Linked DNA regions of Homo sapiens: all the other regions are linked to region 3. The links are contacts of gene promoters, found by promoter capture Hi-C in blood cells and fetal thymus (Javierre and others, 2016). All regions are on one chromosome and are shown on one strand. Each heading gives the region's core, a stretch centred on a gene start or on the middle of the fragment in contact. The rest is flanking DNA. Distances are from core to core; before and after follow the strand shown. Region 1 overlaps DIRC3 (disrupted in renal carcinoma 3). Region 2 overlaps DIRC3 (disrupted in renal carcinoma 3). Region 3 holds the start of TNS1 (tensin 1).

Evidence for each region. The method cuts DNA at HindIII sites, captures the fragments that hold promoters and counts their contacts. A CHiCAGO score of 5 or more calls a contact.
Region 1: a contact is called between a fragment that was not itself captured here and the fragment with the promoter of TNS1 in region 3, in 11 of 17 cell types (megakaryocytes, naive B cells, endothelial precursors and 8 more). The highest score is 19.1, in megakaryocytes.
Region 2: a contact is called between a fragment that was not itself captured here and the fragment with the promoter of TNS1 in region 3, in 4 of 17 cell types (megakaryocytes, endothelial precursors, total B cells and 1 more). The highest score is 6.8, in megakaryocytes.

The regions. Positions count from the first base shown.
Region 1 is chr2:217,786,011-217,789,369 of GRCh38, forward strand. All of the region lies in intron 1 of DIRC3 (disrupted in renal carcinoma 3), which reads right to left. Among named protein-coding and RNA genes, the nearest start is that of DIRC3, 2.8 kb to the right of the region's middle. The HindIII fragment of the contact is 2,552 bases long and covers 655-3,206 here.
Region 2 is chr2:217,768,277-217,771,333 of GRCh38, forward strand. All of the region lies in intron 2 of DIRC3 (disrupted in renal carcinoma 3), which reads right to left. Among named protein-coding and RNA genes, the nearest start is that of DIRC3, 21 kb to the right of the region's middle. The HindIII fragment of the contact is 1,756 bases long and covers 705-2,460 here.
Region 3 is chr2:218,001,019-218,004,314 of GRCh38, forward strand. TNS1 (tensin 1) reads right to left here and starts at 1,977. Exons shown (of 33, transcript NM_001387777.1): 1 at 1,822-1,977. The coding sequence starts at 1,854. RefSeq lists enhancers at 421-921, 922-1,422, 3,163-3,262. The HindIII fragment of the contact is 26,666 bases long and covers 1-3,296 here.

The DNA of each region.
Region 1 (3,359 bases), core at 681-3,180, 220 kb before region 3:
TTCTAAGTGGTGCTGCTACCTCTCAGGTCCTGCTTCCCTGTGCAGCCTGGATTCCTCCCAATGCAGCCCTTGTCCAGCTTCGTCTGCCTCTTGGGGGACTGTCCTAGACTCTCTGTCACTGGATCTTTGGACCAGCCAATACTATCAGTTGCCTCACCTGCTAAGGGCACAGTGAGACAGCTGGTCACCAGGATGTCACGGGCCCTGAGCCTCTTCTCTCTAAGGCCTGTCCTTGCTACCCCTCCTCTTGTCCCACTCTTCTCTGATCTCAATGACTTCTGCCATTGTGTACAAAATTGGTGGGTTCTTGGTACACTTGAAGCCGCAGACCCTAGCGGTGAGTGTTACACTTCTTAAACATGGTGTGTCCAGAGTTTGTTCCTTCTGATGTTCAGATGTGTCCTGAGTTTCTTCCAACTGGTGGGTTCGTGGTCTCACTGGCTTCAGAAGTGAAGCTGCAGACTTTTGCAGTGAGTGTTACAGTTCTTAAAGGCGGCGCATCTGGAGTTGTTCCTCCCTCCCGATGGGTTCATGGTCTCGCTGGCTTCAGGAGTGAAGCTGCAGACCTTCACAGTGGGTGTTACAGCTTATAAACGCGGTGCGGACTCAAAGAGTGAGCAGCAGCAAGATTTAGTGCAAAGAGCGAAAGAACAAAGCTTCCACAGTGTGGAAGCAGAGAGCGGGTTGCTGCTGCTGGCTAGGGCAGCCTGTTTTTATTCCCTTATCTGACCACCCCTCACCTACATCCTGCTGATTGGCCCATTTTACAGAGAGCTGATTGGTCCATTTTGACAGGGTGCTGATTGGTGCATTTACAATCCCTGAGCTAGACACAGAGTGCTGATTGGTGCATTTACAATCCTCTAGCTAGAAGTAAAAGTTCTCCAAGTCCCCACTAGATTAGCTAGACACAGCACTGATTGGTGCCTTTACAAACCTTGAGCTAGACACAGAGTGCTGATTGGTGTGTTTACAAACCTTGAGCTAGACAGAGTACTGATTGGTGTATTTATAATCCTTTAGCTAGACATAAAAGTTCTCCAAGTCCCCACCAGATAAGCTAGATACAGAGTGCTGATTGGTGCATCCACAAACCCTGAGCAAGGCACAGAGTGCTGATTGGTGCATATACAATCCTCCAGCTAGACATAAAAGTTCTCCAAGTCCCCACCTGACTCAGAAGCCCAGCTGGCTTCCCCTAGTGAATGCCGTGCCTGTGGGCAAAGCTGCCTGCCAGTCCCGTGCCCCACACCTGCACGCCTCAGTCCTTGGGCGGTCGATGGGACCGGGCACCACGGAGCAGGGGGCGGTGCCCGTCGGGGAGGCTTGGGCCCGGTGGGAGCGCAGGGAGGACGGGGGAGGCTCAGGCATGGTGGGCTGCAGGTCCCGAGCCCTGCCCCTCGGGGAGGCAGCTGAGACCCCGCGAGAATTGGAGCACAACACGGGCAGGCCAGCAGTGCTGGGGGACCCAGCGCACCCTCTGCAGCTGCTGGCCCAGGTGCTAAGCCCCCCACTGCCCAGGGCCAGCGGCACTGGCTGGTCGCTCCGAGTGCGGGCCCCCGCCCACCCAGAACTCACGCTGGCTCGCAAGCACAGCGCGCAGCCCTGGTTCCTGCCCGCGCCTCTCTCTCCACACCTCCCCACAAGCAGAGGGAGCCGGCTGCAGCCTTGGCCAGCCCAGAGTGGGGCTCCCACAGTGCAGGGGCAGGCTGAAGGGCTCCTCAAGCGCGGCCAGAGTGGGCGCCGAGGCCAAGGAGGTGCTGAGAGGGAGCGAGGGCTGCTAGCACGTTGTCACCTCTCACCATCTCAAGACCTGGACCCCAGCATGCTCCTACCCCCACACTATCTACACCATTCTGGATAAGCCCAAAGTCTTTGGAAGCAGATAGAGATGGATTTGAATCCTTATGCAGCACTTACTAACAGAGTTGTTACTTACCTTCTCCGAGCCTTGGTTTTCTAATCTGTGAAATGGGAGTGATCACGGCCACCATTTTGAGTTTTTTGTAAGTGACATCCTGTGCATCTCATGCAGGGCCCAACAGTATCATAGACAGCCAGTAAATGTTACTTGCCTCCCACCATGTCACATGAGCACTGTGCTCGGCATTCTATACACAGAATTGTGAATATCCACATAACTTTGTCAGCTAGTTATTACTGGCCCATTTTATAGACGAAGAAACTGAGGCAACAAGAGGTCAAATAATTTGTCCGGGATCACATAAGTGAGAAACTAGCAAAGCTGACACTTGGGCCCATATTGGATGGATGTGAAGGCAAATCCTGCTCTGCCTGGGCACTCTGCCCCCATGTTCTGCCTGCAGGTAAAAGAGAGTGTTTTACTGTCCTTGTTTTCTAATAGGCTTCTCAGTGCTTTGATCCTACCTCTGCAGAAGCACCCACTACCACTCCTTTTAGGGAAAAGAGGACTATTTACTTTTTAATTTTACTTTCAATCAGTCAGATTCAGTTCCACGTTCATAGAGACTTGGGGTAGTTCAGTGAAATCAGAGCCTGGGTGTCCTTGGAGAAAGGTTGATGTTCATGCTCACTCTTTTTGTGGGGGTCATTGACTCTGAAAAAGAGGGAAGTCTAATAACTGAGTCTGGGAAATAAAGATGCCTGCATTTCAGGTTCTCTGACCCAGATCCCGGAGGATGGGGAGCAGCTGTTTCCATCTCCGCAGGTGCTAGAACCTCTAGGAATGTAGTCACTTGGAAGGGGAGAAGCAAGAGTGAGTGGAATAGAACTTCCAGAGGTCAAATCACCCGAAAGGTCCAGTGGAGCTGAACACTGCACCGTCTGCCACAGGAGAGGCGCTCACCTGCCCTGCCAAGCAGCAGGCCGGCTGCAGGGGAATGGACAGGTTGGCCTTGCAGACTCAGCGAGCAAGCACTAGGGCATGGGCTATGCAGGGCTGTGAGAGGGCAGCCCAGAGACACCCAGGTCCCAAAGGCCCAAAGAACGGGACATGGGGGTTTTGAGAGGGGAAGGATCTTGCCTAGGCCCCGTTGTGTCCAGTGCCCCTTCTGCTGAGCCACACCCTGGAGCCCTGGAGCTCTCTGGCTCCTGCCACTGCTGACTGCCTGAGTGGTGGTCATTGAGAAATGATTGAGAAAATCTGGGCCAGGTCCAATCCGCCACGAGGGATGATTGATAATGGGAACAGAGACTGTGGGTCTCCGTCCTCACCGCTGTACTGAAGCTTTTAATAATCAGCCTGTCTCTAAGTACCTGAAGACTCTCGGCTTCCAGCTGTCTATTAATTGTGCCTCTCAGGCCCTTGGACAGTTGATTCAGCCTACTGCCCACTGTGACCGCTTCCAGGAAAGGCAATGAGTGGCTGCGGTTCCCAA
Region 2 (3,057 bases), core at 333-2,832, 230 kb before region 3:
AATTATTAACGGTCTCAACATCCAAATGGAAACACAGAGGTTAGAGAAATGCATTTAAAAATAAACAATAAAAAACATAACCCAACACACTTTAAATATAAAGATAGGAATAAGTTCAAATTAAATGAATGCAAAAAGATATATTATGCAAACCATAAGAGAGCTAGATTAGGTATATAAATATCTGATAAAATAGAATTCAAGATAGAATAGTACCAAAAAATGAAGAGGGAAATTTTATAGTGACAAAAGGATCAATTTATCAATGAGACTTAATAACCGTAAATGAGTATAGATCTATCAACAGAGCCTCAAAATACATGAAACGAAAATTGACAGGATTAAAAGGAGAAATAGAAAATTCCATAATCACAATAGGTTTTTAACACCTCTCTCTCAGCAAGCGATAGAGCAACTAGACAGAAACATCAGTAAAGATCTATAAAAATAATGGTATTATTCAGGAATCTGAATAATAATATTCGCCATGTTGACCTAACTAATAGTTACAAAACACTACCTAACAACTGCAGAATACACATTTATTTCAAGTGTGCACTATGTGTTTGCTGAGATTTACCATAGTCTGGGCACAAAACAAGTCTCAATAAATTTAAAAGAATTAAAATCATACAGAATATTTCTCTAACCACAACCAAATTAAATTAGAAACAAATAAAAGTAAGATAGGCAGAAAAACCCAAAGCTTGTGATAAGATTCTTAACACACTCAGCAGAATGTTTAAAATTAAAAAGACTGACAATACCAAATGTTAGTGAGGATATGGAGCAACTGGAACCTTCATGCATTGTTGGTGGAAATGAGAAATGATACAACCACTTCCAAGAAGTGACAGGATTTTTTTTTTAAGTTAAACAGCATACTCTGGTTTTTCTTCAGATTGCATAAATCTTTTACCTTTCACTAAAATTTTAACATACACCTACCATATGACCCCACCAGCCCATTTCTAGGTATTTACCCATGAGAAATCCACGCATTTGTCCACAATAAGCTCTGTATGTAAACGTTCACAGAAGTTTTATTCTTAATAGCCAAAACACTGGAACCAACTTAAATATCCATCATTTAACTGAATGAATAAGCAAAAAATATAGTATATTTATACAAAGGAATACTACTCAGCAAGAAAACAGAACAAACTACTGATAAACACAAAAGCATGGAAGAATCTCAAAATCAGGCAGAGGAAAAGAAGGCAGAAATGTATATATGGATGGATGGATGGATGGATAGATAGACATACACACAGACATATATCTAGTATTACTCCATTTATATAAAATCTTTAAAAAATGAAGCATGTAAAGGAATAGAATCAGTGGTTACCTGGGACTCGGAGTAGAGGGAAGGGTGTACTGTAATGGGACATAAGGAATCTTTTGGGGCGGATGGAAAAGTTTTGCCTCTTGATTATGGTCGTAGTTTCGTGGCTATATACAACTGACAAAATAGTGTGCCCTTTAAGTGAATTCAACTTATTGGGTGTTATTTACACCTCAAAGATGATATTTTTAAATTTCAGCACAAAAAATTAAAAATGGGATCAAGTGGGATTATTCTAGGAATACCAGGATAACTCCTTAAAATCCATTAATACAGTTTATTATGTTAAGAAACAATAAAACGTGATTATCTCCATACATTCTGGGGGAGCATTTGATCAGATTCTGCACTCATTCTTGATATTTAAATTTAAAAGCAAATAAAATAGAAATGTGTGGATATTTCCTTGACATGATAAAATGTTTTGAATAGAGAACTACAGAAGCTATTGATGTTAAAGTCAGAAATAAGACAATGATTACTATATTCACTTCCTATTGCTGCCACCACAAATTTAATAGCCTAAAACAACACAAATGTATTCTCTTACAGTTCTGGAAGTCAGAGTCTAAATGGTCACACTGAGTTAAAATCAAGGTGCCAGCAGGGCTGCATTTCTTTCTGGAGGCTCTAGGAGAAAATTGATACACTTACCTTTTTCAGCTTACTAAAGGCTATCTGCATTCCTTGGTTCATGGCTCTCTTCCATCTTCAAAGCCAGCATTTGCATCATTCTGACCTTGGCTTCTAACATTGCATCTCCTTCTCTGACTCTTACTCTCCTACCTGCCTCTTACAAGGACTCTTGTGATAATCTTCCCATCTCAGGGTCCTTAACTCAATCACATCTGCAAAGTTCCTTTGCCATGTAAGTTAACACATTCACAGGTTCCAAAGATTAGGACATGGACGTCTTTGGGGTGGCCATTATTCTGCCTACCACACTTACCAAGTGCAAATGCGGCCAATAATCAGGTAGACAAGATGGCCTATTCAATGGATCTCCATTGACCTCTTTACCCAGACACCCCAGTATTTGCTCAATGGGCTCACTAACAACGTGGCCACAATAGCAGGGATGGAGGTTACACAAGGGCTTGGATTTCCCTTTAAGCTTGATCCAGCTTCCACTATTGCTGAGTACTCAGCTGCAGAGACCAATACTGAGTGCCCAGTACAGTATGTAGCCACCCTATTAGACACCTTCCATCATGGAGGAGGAAGCAATTTACCCTTGCTGGAATAGACATTTCCTGGAATATGCATTTGTCTTCTCTGCCTGTTGTAGTTTGACTAAAAGCAGCATCTATGGACTTTCCGAATACTTGAATTACCCTCCCAATCCCTTGCAACATTGTTTCTGTCCAGGAAAAATAATTTTAAAGCAATGGATGATAGGCTTATTTCTACAGCATACACTTGTCTTATCATGGAACCTCATCATCCCAAAGCAGGTGGAGTAATAGAACAGTGAACAAACCTGTTGAAGGCTCAATCACAGCTCCAATTTGGACTCACTCAACACCTTATGAGAGTTGGGTGTCATTTGCAGCATGCAGTATATACTCAGAACTGGAGACTAATAATATGGTTCTTTTGCTCTCATAGCCGAAAATGTGTGTATTCAGTAACTAAGGGAGAGAAATAGGAGAGGTGCCCCTCACTATTAAACCTAATGGTCCCTTATAAACTTTTTTTCCCATTCACTG
Region 3 (3,296 bases), core at 727-3,226:
GGCACGCACTTGTAGTCCCAGCTACTCGGGAGGCTGAGGCAGGAGAATTGCTTGGACCCAGGAGGTAGAGGTTATAGTGAGCCAAGATCATGCCATTGCACTCCAGCCTGGGTGACAGAGTGAGACTCCATCTCAATTAAAAAAAAAATGAATAAATAAAAATAAAGACACTCAAGGAAGCAGCACTCACAGCTGCCTTGGTCCCCAGACTCTTCCCCTTACTCTCAGGGAGGGTATAACACCCATAGGGCACTCTACCTGCCAGGCACTGCCCTGGGGAATTGGATACAAAATTTCATCCCTACCTCTCTGTACCCTGTTTCTCTGCAATCCTCATTTCACCAACGGGAAAGCAGAGGCTCACCAGGATGAGGCACTTTTCCCAGTATCAGTCAGCTGAAGGGATCTATAGAGCCCTCTCTCCAGTCACAGCAGCTCGTCACCCCTGGAGGTCTACCTGCCATCCTTCTTGTGTCACCCCTGGACGTCTACCTGCCATCCTTCTTGCTGCAGAGCTCCCTCCTGCCTACCTCTGTCCTCAGCACAGAGACGAACCTGGCCAAGGCTCCCATTTCCCAGATGTCAACACCAGCCCAGTAAACCACAAATGCATCCTGTGTGCAGGCCTCCCCAGTCACTCTCAATCTATTAATCCAATCCATCCCAGCACCCCAGCCCAACATGCCACCCAAACCGCCTCATTCCAGGCCCCCTCCCCCACCCTTTCTTTCTTTGCCCAGAGGACACCTGGCTGCCCGAGTTTGTGTTCCCACAACTGCCCCCAGCATGGGCTTGCCTGGGCCAAGAGGGCCCTCCCGAGGACTGGCCAGAACAAGGAAAGGGACAGGAAAGGCCACATCTGGATCACAGCCCTGAAGCCCCCTCCCCCAAACCAGCCATCACTCTCTCAGAGCCCAACAGTAACCTCAGCCAGGGACGACTTCCTCACCCTCCTGACCCCATGCATGCCTTTGCCTGGCCAAGACAGCCCCACAGGAGCCCCTCTGAGGAAGGGGTCCTCTCCTCCTCTGACCCCCAGCCCTTCTGCAGCAGGCAGCCCTCTCCCATCCCCCTTTACCCAGGAGCCTCAGCCCAGGTCTGGCCTTAAGACTTTTAACCTTCACCACGTGGCCCCCAGGCCTCTCTGCTGGCCCCCCTGGCATCCCCATCCTGAAACCCACCTCCCTGAACCTGGAGCCAAGAGAGAAAGGGGGAAGAGCGGGCCATGGCTCCCTCCTCCAGGATGGAGAGGTCTTGGTAGCAGGGGAGGGCTGTGGAGGAAGGGATGGCAGTGGGTGGAAGCTGAAACTGGGTGTAGAAGGAATAAAAGGGATGGACTCTGAGAATTCTCCCACAGCCCAGCTCTTCCAGACTTAATATTTTGGACTACTATTCTTTGCTCCCCAGCCCCACCACTGCCTCCTCCTCAAGATCTTGGGCTCAGCAACTGAGGGGGGGCGGTGAAGAATTTTCACCCCATTGTAGGATGCAAGTCGGGAGGAAAGGCTCTAAAGAGAAGCAAACTTCTCTGTGGCCTCCTTCCACTTACAGCTCTGGGACTCCATTGGGGGGTGGGGGGGTGGGGCAGGGGATGTACTGACCCGGGACCCTGGGCCTGGGCCCTGTTGGTGGGGAAAGTCTTCCGGCTGAGGGTTGCTCAAGTCAGTCTGTCCTTCTGTAGGTCAGAGACAGAAAGGCCCCTCCTTCAAGACTGACACCCCCCGACCCCGGGCTCTCAGCAAAAGGATAAGGTGGCAGGGGCCGGTGGGGGGCGGGGGGTTTGAGGAAGAGTAACGTCGCAGCTAAAGCAGCCAGACCTACCCAGAGCATGCAGGACAGACAGATCCACGTCATCTTTGCTGGGTCCCGTCACTGAGGCACGCCCAGGGCCTGTGAAGAGCCCCTGAAGCTAGAGTCCCCGCGGCGCTGGCAGAAGGGCTCTCTGAGTCCGCGGCTGCTCCGGCTCCGCCAGCATCTGCTGGGCCTCTCGCCCTGCTGCCTCCAGCTCACCCTCCCTCCTCCTCCTCCTCCCCCCACTCCACCCCTCGTCCCAGCCTCCTCTCTCCTCCCTCCTCCCAGGCTCCACCGGTGGCCTTGAGGGTCAGGAACCCTGCTTTGCAGGGGGTGTAAAGGGGACAGGGAAAAGGGAAAGCTACCAGAGGCAGGGCCCCCCCAGGCCGTGCCCCCCACCCCCGGACACACAACCCCTGTGTGCCACCAAGGCTCCTCAGTCTTCTGATCTGGTGCTGGTAGGCCTGGAGTCCTCCCTCCTCACTGCAGACCCCCGCCCCTGGCAAACCAGCCTGGGGGCCTTCACTCCTGGAACCCTCCAGACCACTGATGGATGAACAGACAGCCCCAGGCCCACACAATCAGCACACTCAGGGTGCCTTGGCCCCTCCCCTTCTCTGAGTACCCGTGCCTGCCTTCCTGGCCTCCTCGGAACACACATGCATTTGCACACACAGACTGGGACAGACTCTGGTGCCCACGCGCCAAGCTCAGAGCCCAGGACAGGCCTTAACACAGAAGAAATAGGGCCCGAGACTGGGGAAGAATGGCCCTGCCCCCAGGCTGTGGGTTTCATTCCAATTTTTTTCCTATTTCTTTTTTTTTCCCCCTTCTTTCTTTCTTTCCTGCAAACATCTGTCCCAGCCTTTCCTGCCCTTCTGAAAGGGAGCCCCGCTCCAGGCTCCCGCGAGAGTGTGTTTTTCTTGACTGTACCCGGGGCCAACATTTGGTTTGCATTTCCCCACTTCCTCCCCCTCCTCCCCTCTCCCCCTCCCTGGGCCCAGTTCTCCCCTCCCACCATTCCACAGGCCTATTTCTTCCCCTCAGTGTCCCCTGCCCACCAGCCCTCCCCTCCCCTCGCCCCCACCTCTGCCCAGGGACAATTGTTGGGGGTCTAGAGGGTGGAAAGGAGGCTGGGTCAAAACCCAAAAGTATTCCCACGGAGCACTAAGGGGGAATCCAGCAAAGTCTGCCCCAGGCCTTCATTGTCTGGAACCACCACGTTCCCCTCCAAAAAAAACCCTTCCTCTTTGAGCTCTGGCCTTGGCTGGACCAACTGAGGGTGGGTGGGGGCCAGTGAATCACCCGCTCTGTTCTTTGGAGCTGTCCAGGAGAAGGAGGGAGGGCTCAGCCCCACACCCTCCTGTGGACACACACACACACAAGGACACAGTCCAACTCACGTCAACACATAAGAGCCCTCCCAGAGTAGGCACTTGGAGACCTCGTTCCTAGACTGAGTCACTTAGCAAGAAAAGTTCTCTTGCCTGGCCTCCTATGCACAC